3 separate regions of the Homo sapiens genome follow, and regions 2 and 3 are each linked to region 1. The links are contacts of gene promoters, found by promoter capture Hi-C in blood cells and fetal thymus (Javierre and others, 2016). All regions are on one chromosome and are shown on one strand. Each heading gives the region's core, a stretch centred on a gene start or on the middle of the fragment in contact. The rest is flanking DNA. Distances are from core to core; before and after follow the strand shown.

Region 1 (4,729 bases), core at 833-3,332:
CCTGCAAAAAGACAGGCACGTCCTTCAGCCTAAAAATCAAGAGTAGCGAATGAGGCTTGCAGATTACACCAGAAGGATAGAAATCGAAATATATATATTTATATTTATTATATATAAATATAAATTTTTATATATTTATTATATATAAACATAAATTTTTATATATTTATTATATATAAACATAAATTTTTATATATTTATTATATATAAACAAATTTTTATATATTTATTATATATAAACATAAATTTTTATATATTTATTATATATAAACATAAATTTTTATATTTATTATATATAAACAAATTTTTATATTTATTATATATAAACATAATTTTTTATATATTTATTATATATAAACATAATTTTTTATATATTTATGATATATAAATATAATTTTTTATATATTTATGATATATAAATATAATTTTTTATATATTTATGATATATAAATATAATTTTTTATATATTTATGATATATAAATATAATTTTTTATATATTTATGATATATAAATATAAATTTTTATATATTTATGATATATAAATATAAATTTTTATATATTTATGATATATAAATATAAATTTTTATATATTTATGATATATAAATATAAATTTTTATATATTTATGATATATAAATATAAATTTTTATATATTTATGATATATAAATATAAATTTTTATATATTTATGATATATAAATATAAATTTTTATTTATGATATCTAAATATAAATTTTTATTTATGATATCTAAATATAAATTTTTATTTATGATATCTAAATATAAATTTTTATTTATGATATCTAAATATAAATTTTTATTTATGATATCTAAATATAAATTTTTATATATGATATCTAAATATAAATTTTTATATATGATATCTAAATATAAATTTTTATATATGATATCTAAATATAAATTTTTATATATGATATCTAAATATAAATTTTTATATATGATATCTAAATATAAATTTTTATATATGATATATAAATATAAATTTTTATATATGATATATAAATATAAATTTTTATATATTTATGATATATAAATATAAATTTTTATATATTTATGATATATAAATATAAATTTTTATATATTTATATTTATGATATATAAATATAAATTTTTATATATTTATATTTATGATATATAAATATAAATTTTTATATATTTATATTTATGATATATAAATATAAATTTTTATATATTTATATTTATACATATAATAAATATAAATATAAATTTTTATATATTTATATTTATACATATAATAAATATAAATATATATATTTCGATTTATATCCTTGCTTAAATATATAAATATATATTTTATAAATATATAAATATATTTATATAATATAACATATATTTATATAAATTATATAAATTTATATATTTTTTAATATTTTATATTTAAATTTATATATATTTATATAAATATATATAAATTTATATTTATTTACATATTTAAGCTAGGAACTACTATTTTGTTTTAATTGCGTACATTTTGCTTGGAAATCACAGGAAGAAACACAACAAAGCATTGCCCAAGGTACAGAAACAATAATAAACGTACTTAAAACTCATTTAAATTCCAGCATTTTTCTCCTTATTTTAGAAGTTTAACATTTCAGAAGCAGACACTGCCTCCCTTCCTGCAACAACTTTCTCCTCTTAAGTCTCATTTTTCCCCAGTTTCAAGGGCGAATTCTAGAACTCCCCGGAACCGCCACCAGTTAACCAGAATTCCGTGGCTTTGGAAAATAAAACTGCTGTTATAGCTCTTCTGGGTATTTGAGAAATGCACTTGTGAAGGGTTAGAGTTGAATCTTTTGATGCGAAAGTCGGGTTTTCCTGATACTGGGATTCCGGGATTCCAGGTGTTGGGGTGGCCCAATTCCTGCGAGAAGCAATAGCGGGCGGTAACATGAGGAGCACGGTGCGTCCAGCGAGTCCTTCCGCCTGGGGCCCTGCCGACCCCCTGCCTGCGCCCCCAGGACTCTGGCCTCACCCGGCCGTGCCGGGGCCTCTGTGACGCGGCGTTCCAGGCACTCGGCCCCGGCCGAGCCCGTAGCTAGAGCGGCTCAGAGACAGGAGGCGGCGGCAGCAGCGGCGGCATGAACCACTGCCAGCTACCGGTGGTGATCGACAACGGCTCGGGAATGATCAAGGCGGGCGTGGCTGGGTGCCGGGAGCCCCAGTTTATCTACCCGAACATTATCGGCCGCGCCAAGGGCCAGAGCCGCGCGGCCCAGGGCGGGCTAGAACTCTGCGTGGGCGACCAAGCTCAGGACTGGAGGAGCTCGCTGTTCATCAGGTACCTCCTTCTCCCAGCAGGCTGCTGGGGCTGGGGAGGGTGGGTGGGGTGGGGGTGGGGTAGGGTGGGGCTGGGGAGGTTGGGGGGTGGGGCTGGGGTGGCTGGGGGTGGGGGGACTGGGGGTGTTGTCGGGGGGCAGGAAAGGACCCCAAAGGAGGTGCGCAATGGGGACAGAAAGAATAAGAAAGCCGGGAGCTGGAAAGCCCCATCCAGCTGGAATTACTACAAACGCACGGGCCACAAATCTCCAAGGGTACCACACATCTAAAAACTGAACATTTTGCTCTCTGTGGCTATACAAATGTATTAAAACGTATAAAGTTATCGAACGAATTCATTTAAGAATATTAACTCATGGTCCCTTTTGTCACTTGGGTTATTCTCTTCAATTGACATTTAAACTATACTATAATGTGGACATTTCCCAATTTTTTAAAAGTCACAAGGTTCCAAAGGACAGAGAAAATGGAAAGCAACAAAAATCGCAGAGGTAGGCCGGGCGCGGTGGCTCACGCCTGTAATCCTAGCACTTTGGGAGGCCGAGCAGGGCGGATCACGAGGTCAGGAGTTCGAGACCATCGTGGCTAACACGGTGAAACCCCGTCTCTACTAAAAATACAAAAAAATTAGCCGGGCGTGGTGGCGCGCGCCTGTAGTCCCAGCTACTCAGGAGACTGAGGCAGGAGAATGGCGTGAACCCGGGAGGCGGAGCTTGCAGTGAGCTGAGATCGCGCCACTGCACTCCAGCCTGGGTGACAGAGCGAGACTCTGTCTCCAAAAAAAAAAAAAAAAATTGCAGAGGTAAGTAGCTGTGCTATTTTTGGCTGACACTTACCTGCTGTGAGAGGCTGTGGCAGTTATTGCCCATAAAGGGATATTGGTAATAAACGCGGGGAATTAACTGAGGGTCGAAGACAATAGAAACTAGAAAAATAAAAAGCTGTCATTGATCTTATTGCTTTCCTTACAGTTACCCAGTGGAGCGTGGTCTCATTACTTCATGGGAGGACATGGAGATCATGTGGAAGCATATCTATGACTATAACCTAAAGCTGAAGCCGTGTGATGGCCCAGTCTTGATTACTGAGCCAGCGCTGAACCCACTGGCCAACCGGCAACAGATCACGGAAATGTTTTTTGAGCATCTGGGTGTTCCTGCCTTCTATATGTCCATCCAGGCTGTGCTGGCTCTCTTTGCTGCTGGCTTCACTACTGGCCTTGTGCTGAATTCAGGTGCTGGGGTTACCCAGAGTGTGCCCATCTTTGAGGGTTACTGTCTGCCTCATGGTGTGCAGCAACTGGATCTGGCAGGCCTTGACCTCACCAACTACCTCATGGTGCTAATGAAGAACCATGGTATCATGTTGCTCAGTGCTTCAGACAGAAAGATTGTTGAAGACATCAAGGAGAGCTTTTGTTATGTGGCAATGAACTACGAAGAGGAAATGGCCAAGAAACCCGATTGTCTAGAGAAAGTTTACCAACTACCTGATGGGAAGGTCATCCAGCTCCATGACCAGCTCTTTTCTTGTCCAGAGGCCCTCTTCTCTCCGTGTCATATGAACCTTGAGGCCCCTGGCATTGATAAGATATGCTTCAGCAGCATAATGAAATGTGATACAGGCCTGAGGAATTCCTTCTTTTCCAATATTATCCTTGCCGGGGGATCAACCTCTTTCCCTGGTTTAGACAAGCGGTTAGTTAAGGATATAGCAAAGGTGGCTCCTGCCAACACCGCTGTGCAAGTTATAGCTCCTCCAGAAAGGAAAATATCAGTGTGGATGGGAGGTTCTATTCTTGCATCCTTGTCTGCCTTCCAGGACATGTGGATCACTGCTGCAGAATTTAAAGAAGTTGGACCCAACATAGTACACCAAAGATGCTTCTGAAATACAGATAAAATGGTTGGAAGAAAATGTTTTGAGTATATGTGACAGAAAACTTTGGATATTATATGTTTCTGGGAGAAGAGAAAATACTTCACCTATTGGGATGCCAATATTTCTGTTGTATTTCTATAATGGGTTTGGGGGATAATAATGGTGAAGCTCAAGAACAGATGTCTATTGAGTAGAACCAAGTTAAAATAATGTTTCCCATAGTGTTTCTTCTATAACTTGACGTTGGTGAGCTTATATTTCCCTTGGAAGAGAGCATTTGTGGTACAATATGCTATGTGCCAAATGAGTGATAAGATTTAAGCTTATTGAAGTTTAGGGAAAGAAGGTTGCTGTGGTGAGGAACGAGACTCCATAGCAGAGGTATGCCATCATGGAAGGGGTGGCATTGGGATGGAGCGCAGATATCCAGGCAAGCATACTAAAATGAACAAGTTGCTAAAGATGAGAATGAACAAAGCATATTCAGGGCATGTTTAATAGACTGATTTTGTTTTTAAAATTTTTGT
Region 2 (4,518 bases), core at 1,920-4,419, 230 kb before region 1:
ACAGGCAAAACGAACCCATAGTGTTAAAAGTGTACATTGTGGGAGGCGAGGAGTCAGGTGGCTGAGAGGGTTCCCCCGGGTCTGGGAGTGGGGGTTCTAGGAGCTGATGTTCTGCCGCTTGGTCCAATGGTTACATGGGTGTGTCCACTTTGTGATAATTCATTGAACCATATACTTATGATTTGTACACTTTTCTTTAGGTATATTACATTTTATTTTAAAACATTAGCTGTGCATATGTTATGCCATAAAAAGATTGTAGTGAAAAACAAAAATCAATCAGGTGTTTCAGATGCTTAACTTTGAGCTTCTGTAAATGTTTTAATGAAACAAAATCAGCACCACGTGTATTTGTTATTAGTTATCCAATTATGCTGTACTAGCAGCAGAACATTAAAAGGCAACAGGAAGTTAGTTGCACACAACATTAAAGCAAACCACTCTCTTTCACTGCACAATTCCTAGCTACCTTGATTTGCAGGGGGATCGTATGTTGCTACAGAAGGGACTAAGTTTTATAGAAGACATTTGTTGAAAATTCTTAAAAATTCCCATAATTACATGTTGTATCAAAAAAGATAGTGAACAGGAAGGAAATGAAATTGTTCTCAGCAGCATTGAACAATGTCTTGTTGCTTCCTCTTTGTAATGTGGCAAGTGGGGGTAGGGTGAACAAAATGAGCATCCTGATGGATTTTATTTTAAGCAGGTTTCACTTTATGGTAAACACAAGATATTTTAGTGATAAATGGAATGCTTATTTGATATTGTCCCACATATTGTGACTTTGTGCTGGAAGCCTCTATACCAGAGGCCCAAGGAGTTATTCTTTTGTTCCTTTTTCTTTTTCCCTTTTTTTTTTTTTGAGACAGAGTCTCGCTCCTTTGCCCAGGATGGAGTGCAGTGGCCGCGATCTCAGCTCACTGCAACCTCTGCCTTCTGGGTTCAAGCGATTCTCCTGCCTCAGCCTCCTGAGTAGCTGGGATTACAGGCTCCCACCACCACGCCCGGCTGATTTTTGTATTTTTAGTAGAGACGGAGTTTCACCATGTTGGCCAGGCTGGTCTCAAACTCCTGAGAGCAGATGATCCGCACGCCTCTGCCTCCCAAAGTGCTGGGATTATGGGCATGAGCTTTCGCGCCCGGCCTGTTCCTTTCCTTTCTACTCCGTCAGTTAGTGGTTAGTTTTCACTTGGATTTGTAAACTCCTGGTGGGCAGTATTCCAAGTTCTCAGAAGCATTTGTGTCGGTGATAAAAAGGAAACAGAGACTAAGGAGTGATGGCTGCTGTAAAATCCTCCCTTGTGGAGTAAGAGCTCTCTGATCGCTCGCCTCTTTTTGCCTCCGCAATCCTTCACCATCTAACTTCTTTCTCAAAGCCTGCAGCACTTTGTTTGTGTCTGTTTGTTTGTTTGTTTGCCTTATCATAACCCTACCAGGCTGGAAGCTTTCCGATGGCGGAGATTGTAGCTTTTAGGGCAGAAGATGGATCTCCTCCGGCAACGTGTGCATGTGCAGGCAGCCGCTGGTTTCCTTGCTCCTTCCCCGGATTCTGAGCCGGGACTGTGGGTTCCTCATTTATATTATTGTTCAGCATATAGTCGAGGCTCAGTAAATGTTGGCTGAATGAAGAAAGAAAAGGATTGTGCAGCAGGTCTCCAGTTTTAAGATTCTTCAGGTGACTTGCCTTCTGAGTATTGCAGAGAACTGCCATTGCCTCCTGAGAAAAGCAGTCTACGGTCTGTGCTGGGAGTCTCAATGGCATTCCTCTGTCTGGTCACCGCATCCCTCTCAATCTGTGTGGTGGGGAATAAAGAATGTGAGGTGGCAATGGGGCTGAACATTCGAGCTCATTTTCCAGGAGTTGGTTCCCTTCTATAGGAACATTATCCGTGTATAATCGTGGCTTGGCATTGATGGAACTGTTCAAACAAACATGTCATGCTCCCACCAATACTGTTAATAAGAAACTTTGGGTGGAGGCAGAGGGAAGCACGAGACATCTGAATCTTGCATATGTTTTCTTTTTTTGACGGAGTCTCGCTCTGTCGCCCAGACGAGTGTAGTAGTGTGATCTCGGCTCACTGCAGCCTCTGCCTCCTAGGTTCAAGCAATTCTCCTGCCTCAGCCTCCCGACTAGCTGGGACTACAGGTGTGCACCTCTACACCCGGCTAATTTTTGTATTTTTAGTAGAGACAGGGTTTCACCATGTTGGCCAGGATGGTCTTGATCTCCTGACCTCATGATCCACCTGCCTCGGCCTCCCAAAGTGCTGGGATTACAGGTATGAGCCACCACGCCCGGCTGCATATGTTGTTTGTTAAGTAGTGAAATTTGCAATCAGTCCTTTGGAAGGAGACTAAATTAGGGGTGGGATGGAAGGTGAGATAGAAGACAGCATATGCGATTGAAAAGTGGAGAATTCTGATGGTTCTTTTATTAAAGGACAATAAGAAAAAAAGTTATTAAGAATAGGGTTTCAATTTTGTAATTGAACCCTGTGGAGTATATGCAACTAGAAAGATGGGATAGAGATGCAACTTGCTTTGCTTTATATAGTATCCAACCACTCTTTATAGCTGTGCAGTCTGTCAGATATTGTCCAGACTCTGTAAGTACAGACCAGTTTCTGCAGTTACTGCTCTTGTTTTCAAGAGCCTTGTTGTGTACTAATTTACTTGTTACTGCCCTTTATTTTTTTCTTTGCAGTGCAAAGTGCCATAATTGTTAAAGGTGTATGTATTTGAGGATATGGCAAGTTAATAATAAATTCTTCCTTCTAATCCCCTCGAATGTTGATCATTAAAAACACTGTAATGTGAAATACTTTGTAACATGCATTTACTATATACTTAGTCTAAGGATAACTTCACAATCTGAAGCTTGAAGTTGGTGAGCAGAAATACAATTTAAAATCATAAGCTGGTCAATAATTTGTTCTTCTGAAAAAATGGTGTCTTTGGTTCCACACAACATGTTCTTTTTCCAGATCGTTAATTTCTGAATACTCTTAATATAAAGTATACATGGTATGATCCCATTTATTTACTATCTCCTCACCTCAGTGAACAGAGACATACATGTTACACATATAAGAGCTATAGAAGGATATATATGAGTTTTAACAGTAGTTGTCTCTGAAGGTAGGTGCTATGGTTTCAATGTCCCCCTCAAAACTCATGCTGAAATTTAATTGCCATTGTGATGATATTAAGAGGTGGAACCTTTAAGAGGTGATTAGGCCATAAGGGCTCTGCCTTCACAGATGCATTGTTATTATCATGAGAGTGGGCTTGTTATAAAAGCCAGTTCAGCCCCCTCTTGCTCACTGGCTTTCATCTTGTCTTGCCCTTCTGCCTTCCACCATGGGATGCAGCATGAAAGCCCTCACTAGATCCCAGTGCCATGCTCTTGGACTTCTCAGCCTCCAAACTCATGAGTCAAATAAGCTTCTTTTTTTTTTTCTTGAGACAGAATCTCACTCTCTTGCCCAGGCTGGAGTGCAGTGGTGTGATCTCAGCTCACTGCAACCTCTGCCTCCTGGGTTCAAGCGATTCGCCTGTCACAGCCTCCCAAGTAACTGGGACTACAGGTGCACACCACCACACCCAGCTAATTTTTATATTTTCAGTAGAGTCGGGGTTTTGCCATGTTAGCCAGGCTGGTCTCGAACTCCTGACCTCAGGTGATCCACCCGCCTTGGCCTCCCAAAGTGGTGGGATTACAGGCATGAGCCACCATGCCCTGTCAGTTTATTTTCTTTATAAATTACCCAGTCTGTGGTATTCTGTTATAGCTACACAAAATGGACTAAGACAGTAGGTTTGTGAGTTTTCTGGTTATTTTTGCTTATAAGTTTCTGATTTTTCCGTAATAAGAAAATAAATTGTTTTTAACAACAAGAGGGGAGTTGTGGTTAGAATGTGTAAATCTGAGAAATACTGGAAGTATCCAGAAAATATCTAAGCCTTGCTCCTTGCCATGCCATTTTCTATGTGATTAGTGTAGTCTAAGATGCAAATCTGAATGTGTCACTCTCCTGCTTTGAGTCAATCTGCTCCAAAGGTATTTTAGTGTCACTGTTCATACTTACTGTGTGCAACTCAGTCATCTTTCAGTTCCCAGTGACAGAAATCTCATTCAAAATAACTGAGAAAAAATGATGAATCTGTTGGCTCATGCAACTGAAAAGCCCAGGGATGGCTTTAGGCCAGGCTAGATCTGGGAGTTCAAAGATGGCATTAAGGCCTTGTCTTCCTGATCCACCCTTGGTTCTGTTTTTTTCATGTTGGTTCTATTTCTAGACAGGCTCCATTCATGTGAAGGCAGCATAGCCATTGGTTTCTTCAGGTCCACATGGTCCTTGGAATTCAAGACCCCTGAGTAAATGAGAAGACTTCAATTGGCCTGGTGTGAACTGAGTGCTCATCCTTGAGGCCAGTCACCGTGGAATGGAATGAGGAGCACCACAGAAGGGAAAGGAATATTTTCTAAAGGAAGGGATTCTGGTCAAACAA
Region 3 (4,470 bases), core at 628-3,127, 260 kb before region 1:
CTCTCCTGCCTTAGCCTCCTGAGTAGCTGGGATTACAGGCATGTGCCACTACACCCAGATAATTTTTTTGTATTTTTAGTAAAGAAAGGGTTTCACCATGTTGGCCAGGCTGGTCTTGAACTCCTGACCTCAAGTGATCCACCCGCCTCAGCCTCCCAAAGTGCTGGGATTACAGGCGTGAGCCACCGCTCACAGCCCCTTTGGCAAAGATTTTATAGGTTCCTTTTAAATTCTTTGAGAGTGAAATCTTTTTCTTAAATATTCTTCTGTGTGTCACTTTTAAAAACTGTACTATGCATACAACTTAAATTGCATTTCTTTTCTGTGTTTATCTCATATCTACATGCAAACAATTGTATCTGGTTCTTTTGTTCTTTTGTTGAAAAACAGTTTGGAGAGGGTCAGTTTATTGAGCTGGAGTAGCTGACAACTTCAAAATGAAAATGCTGCCTTAGAACACTCTCCCCAAATTATGTTGTCTTTTTTTTTTTTTTTCAGTAGGACAATTTCCCTTCAGTTGAGCAAGCTGTCCAAGTAGGAGGTTGTTGTGGACAACTGTAAAGATTCCTAGATAATAGGCCAGGTGTGGTGGCTCACGCCTGTAATCCCAGCACTTTGGGAGGCCAAGGTGGGTAGAGAGCTTGAGGTCAGGAGTTCGAGACCAGCTTGGCCAACATGGTGAAACCCCATTTCTACTAAAAATACAAAAATTAGCTGGGCATGGTGGCTCACGTCTGTAATCCCAGCTACTTGGGAGGCTGAGGCAGGAGAATCGCTTGAACCTAGGAAGCAGAGGCTGCAGTGAGCCAAGATCGTGCCATTGTACTCCGGCCTGTGCAACAAGAGTGAAACTCTGTCTCAAAAAAAAAAAAAGATTCCTAGATAAGAGATATTTTGTCTAGGGATTTTATGTTTAACTCTGCTTAATGGACTGGTCAGCACCAGCAAAGCCGGTTTTGATTTCTTCTCTCTTCTTACTCCCGTCTCCAAGCACCTTTGTTAAGTTAGAATCCAGAGCACAGAGAAAAATTACTAATGAATTCAATTGTATCATCAGCCCCACCTTCCTCATCCTCAGTTCTCATTTTCCTTTTGGTCTCCCCACAGTTGTGTTGCTGTTGGGTTTGGTTTTTTTTTGTTTTGAATGGTGATCATTTATGGAAGGTTAACATGGGCCATGCATGTTTTTACATGTATTCCTCATTCAGTCCTTAAAACTATCCCAGACTTTATGATGCTCATTTTTATAGACGAGGAACCTGAGGCACAGAGAAATTGAATAACTTGCTCAAGTCACACAGCTTGTAAATAGCAGAACCAGGTATTGCGTGTCTAGAGCCACTGTACTCTACCACGTTGTAACCTCTCAGGAAATGCTAACATACTTTCTACTCACTATAACCTTGCTCAAGATCTGGAGAGCCACATTTCATCATAGTCTGGGGTTTGGAGGTTGTCCTTTTTTGTAGAAGGACTTGTCTAACTTTTTTTTTTTTTTTTTTTTTTGAGACGGAGTCTCGCTCTGTCGTCCAGGCTGGAGTGCAGTGGCGCGATCTCAGCTCACTGCAACCTCTGCCTCCTGGGTTCAAGCGATTCTCCTGCCTCAGCCTCCCGAGTAACTTTTTAATTATTGTTGTTGGTCTTCTTTTGTTGGCGATTTCATGGAGAAGCCCAGTATATATGCACTGTACTTCAACTTTTGCCAGAAGTCTTTAGTAGCATTATTTTCGGGTAAATTGCAAAATAGCTGTTTACTCCTGTCGATGAAAAGAGTCAAACTCTGTAAAATATTCTAAGAGATTTATTCTGAGCCAAATATGAGTGGCCATGGCCTGTGACACAGCCCTCAGGAGGTCCTGAGAACATGTGCCCAAGGTGGTGGGGGTACAGCCTGGTTTTATATGTTTTAGGGAAGTATGAGACATCAATAGAAAACATTTAAGAAACACATTGGTTTGGTTTGGAAAAGCAGGACAACTCAAAGTGGGGCGGGGCGGGGGTTGCTTCCGGGCTGTAGGTAAATTTAAACATTTTCTGGTTGACTGTTGGTTGAGTTTATCTGAAGACCTGGCATCACCAGAAAAGAAATGTTTAAGTTAAGATAAAGGGTTGTGGAGACCAACTTAGCAGACTGCAGAGAGAGCAGGTTGTAAAATGTTTCGAATAGGACCTAAAAGGGTACCTGGCTCTTAGTTGATTATCTCCTGGATCTGGAAAAAAAGGAAGGAAAACAAAGTAGAAAGGGGATTCTCTATAGAATGTGGATTTTTCCCATAAGGGATGGCTTTTCAGGGCCATTTCAAGATATGGCAGAGAAACATGTTTTGGGGTAAAATATTTCGATTTTCTTTCTTGTTATGCTAGAGTCAGATTGGAAAGTAAGTCACAATATACAGGGTTAAATAAACCCCATCTGATGAGAATTTATGGTTTGTAGGGCATGACTCCCCAGGCTCCTTAGATAGGAATTTGGACAAGAGAAAAATCAGAGCTTAGTCCTTACTCTCTTACCCTAGGCGCTTTAGGGCTGTTCTGTTCAATATGGTAGCCACTAATCACAAACTAGTGTATTTAACTTATATCACATATGGCTACTAAGCCCTTAAAATATTAAGCCCGTCCAGATTGTAATATGCTGTAATTGCAAAATGTACACCGCATTTCAAAGACTTAGTACAAAAGAAAAAATATAAAATATCTCGATAATAACTTTTATATTGATAGTACTGGAATGATCATATTTTTAATATATTAGGTTAAATACAATGTACGGTTACAGTTTATTTCACTTGTTTCTTCTTACTTTTCAAATGTGGTGACTAGAAAAGGTAAAATTACATATCTGGCTCACATTAAACAATGCTGCTCTAGGGTTTCTTTTCATCCAGCAATGGCTTAGTTAAGACAGAGGAGGCAATATGGATCCACGAAAAAGTGTCTGTGTGAAGCAGGGTGAAGAGTACGTGGGGGTTGATTATATTACATGGTCTATTTTTGCATATGATGGAAATTTCCCTTAATTAAAAGTTAAAAAGCAAACTCCCAAATATGCATAATTAATACAGAATTTTTTTTGCCATGGTTTAAGTTCCAAGCATGTAACTCATCTGAACAATTTATCCGTTTTAAAATATAATGAATTTCCTCTTGACTAGATCCCATCTGTAGGAGGTAAGCCAACAAGGTGTACTGCACAAGAAGAAAAGAATGCAGAGCTTTCAGTCTGGCCAAGAAGACAGGCTAGGTTCAAGGTAGGCAGTAGCTTCACACCTTGAGAGTTTCTAGCTTATTTCTCTCTATAGGAAATATTTGGTACAAAGTCCAAATTCAATGGTTAGTGCCTTGGACCCATAGGAACCTAGCCTTATCAGTAACAGGTTTCACAACATCTGCTATTTTCCTATGAAAGTGTACACACATAACTATGAAACCAGGACATGAAGTGGGAAGCAGTGATTAATTAAAAAGTGTCCTTTGTTTTATTTTTTTCTTGCAGCAGTACTCGAAGATTGCTTGTTAACCCCAGCATAGAGGGTAAGAGTATACCCTTGGGGTCAGACTCCCTGGTTTCAACTCCTGGGTAACTTAGAAAGTGTTACCTAAATTTTCAACGTGTTGGTAGACTTTTTCCATCTGTAAAATAGGAAGCATAAGGTAAGTCTCAAAGGATGTTGTAAGAATTCAATGAAATCATATGTGAAAAATGCTTTCACCGTACTTGGCCAAAAAGAAGGACCCAGTAAATGTTAGCTGTTGTTTTATGGCAAATTTTTGCTTATTTCTAGTTGTTTGACACTTTACAGATTCCCTGGCTAATGAAATATTCTGCCTTCTACATATAGTATGAGAAATGACCAATTATCACAGCATTAAATGGCTGTCTTTATCTCTAGACGCAACTCTTGAGGGCAGGATCTGTGTAGTTAAATAAAAATTACGGGGGGCTATTGTTTTGGGCTAAGTTTCTGCACTAGGCTCCAACAGACCAGACTAAAAATCAGAATGGAGTTAACTTTGATAAAGTTCCACATCACCAAATCCAAACTAGGTTGTTGTCTGACCTTCCGAGAAATCAGGAGAGATAACAGCCAGTTTCTCATACAGGCCCGGTTAAATCTCTGCTTTAACCTTTGTACAACAGAAGTAGCCTGAAGTAACCTAATATTAACTAATCAGTTATTTTTCTATTATTCTGTCTTCCTGTCCCCACCTTACAAGAAAAGTGGCTTTGAAAGGATCAATGCAATTTTCATTCTTTGCTTGTGCTTTCTTCCGTCCTTCTTTGTCTATAAAGCCAACCTCATCTGCTCAGCTTATCGGAACACTTACTCTGTTTTATGGAATGGAGTGTTGCCCAATTACAGACTCTCACATAAAGTCAACTGAGCTCTTTAAACTAAGTTTGTTGTAGTTTTTTATCATTTTGCAGTGTATTATTTATCTTTGAACCTTCAGTGTCTAGCATAATAT

The links. The method cuts DNA at HindIII sites, captures the fragments that hold promoters and counts their contacts. A CHiCAGO score of 5 or more calls a contact.
Region 2: a contact is called between a fragment that was not itself captured here and the fragment with the promoter of ACTRT3 in region 1, in 1 of 17 cell types (total B cells). The highest score is 5.7, in total B cells.
Region 3: a fragment that was not itself captured here is called in contact with the fragment with the promoter of ACTRT3 in region 1 in 4 of 17 cell types (non-activated CD4 T cells, activated CD4 T cells, total CD8 T cells and 1 more); the score reaches 9.4 in non-activated CD4 T cells.

What each region holds. Positions count from the first base shown.
Region 1 is chr3:169,766,914-169,771,642 of GRCh38, reverse strand. ACTRT3 (actin related protein T3) reads left to right here and starts at 2,082. Exons shown (of 2, transcript NM_032487.5): 1 at 2,082-2,322; 2 at 3,293-4,722. The coding sequence starts at 2,123. The coding sequence ends at 4,211. RefSeq lists cis regulatory regions at 1,930, 3,287, enhancers at 1,858-2,002, 2,094-2,353, 3,215-3,359 and a silencer at 1,944-2,013. The HindIII fragment of the contact is 4,942 bases long and covers 1-4,526 here.
Region 2 is chr3:169,999,153-170,003,670 of GRCh38, reverse strand. No RefSeq gene overlaps it. Among named protein-coding and RNA genes, the nearest start is that of SEC62, 35 kb to the right of the region's middle. The HindIII fragment of the contact is 567 bases long and covers 2,886-3,452 here.
Region 3 is chr3:170,022,255-170,026,724 of GRCh38, reverse strand. No RefSeq gene overlaps it. Among named protein-coding and RNA genes, the nearest start is that of GPR160, 14 kb to the left of the region's middle. The HindIII fragment of the contact is 9,800 bases long and covers 1-4,470 here.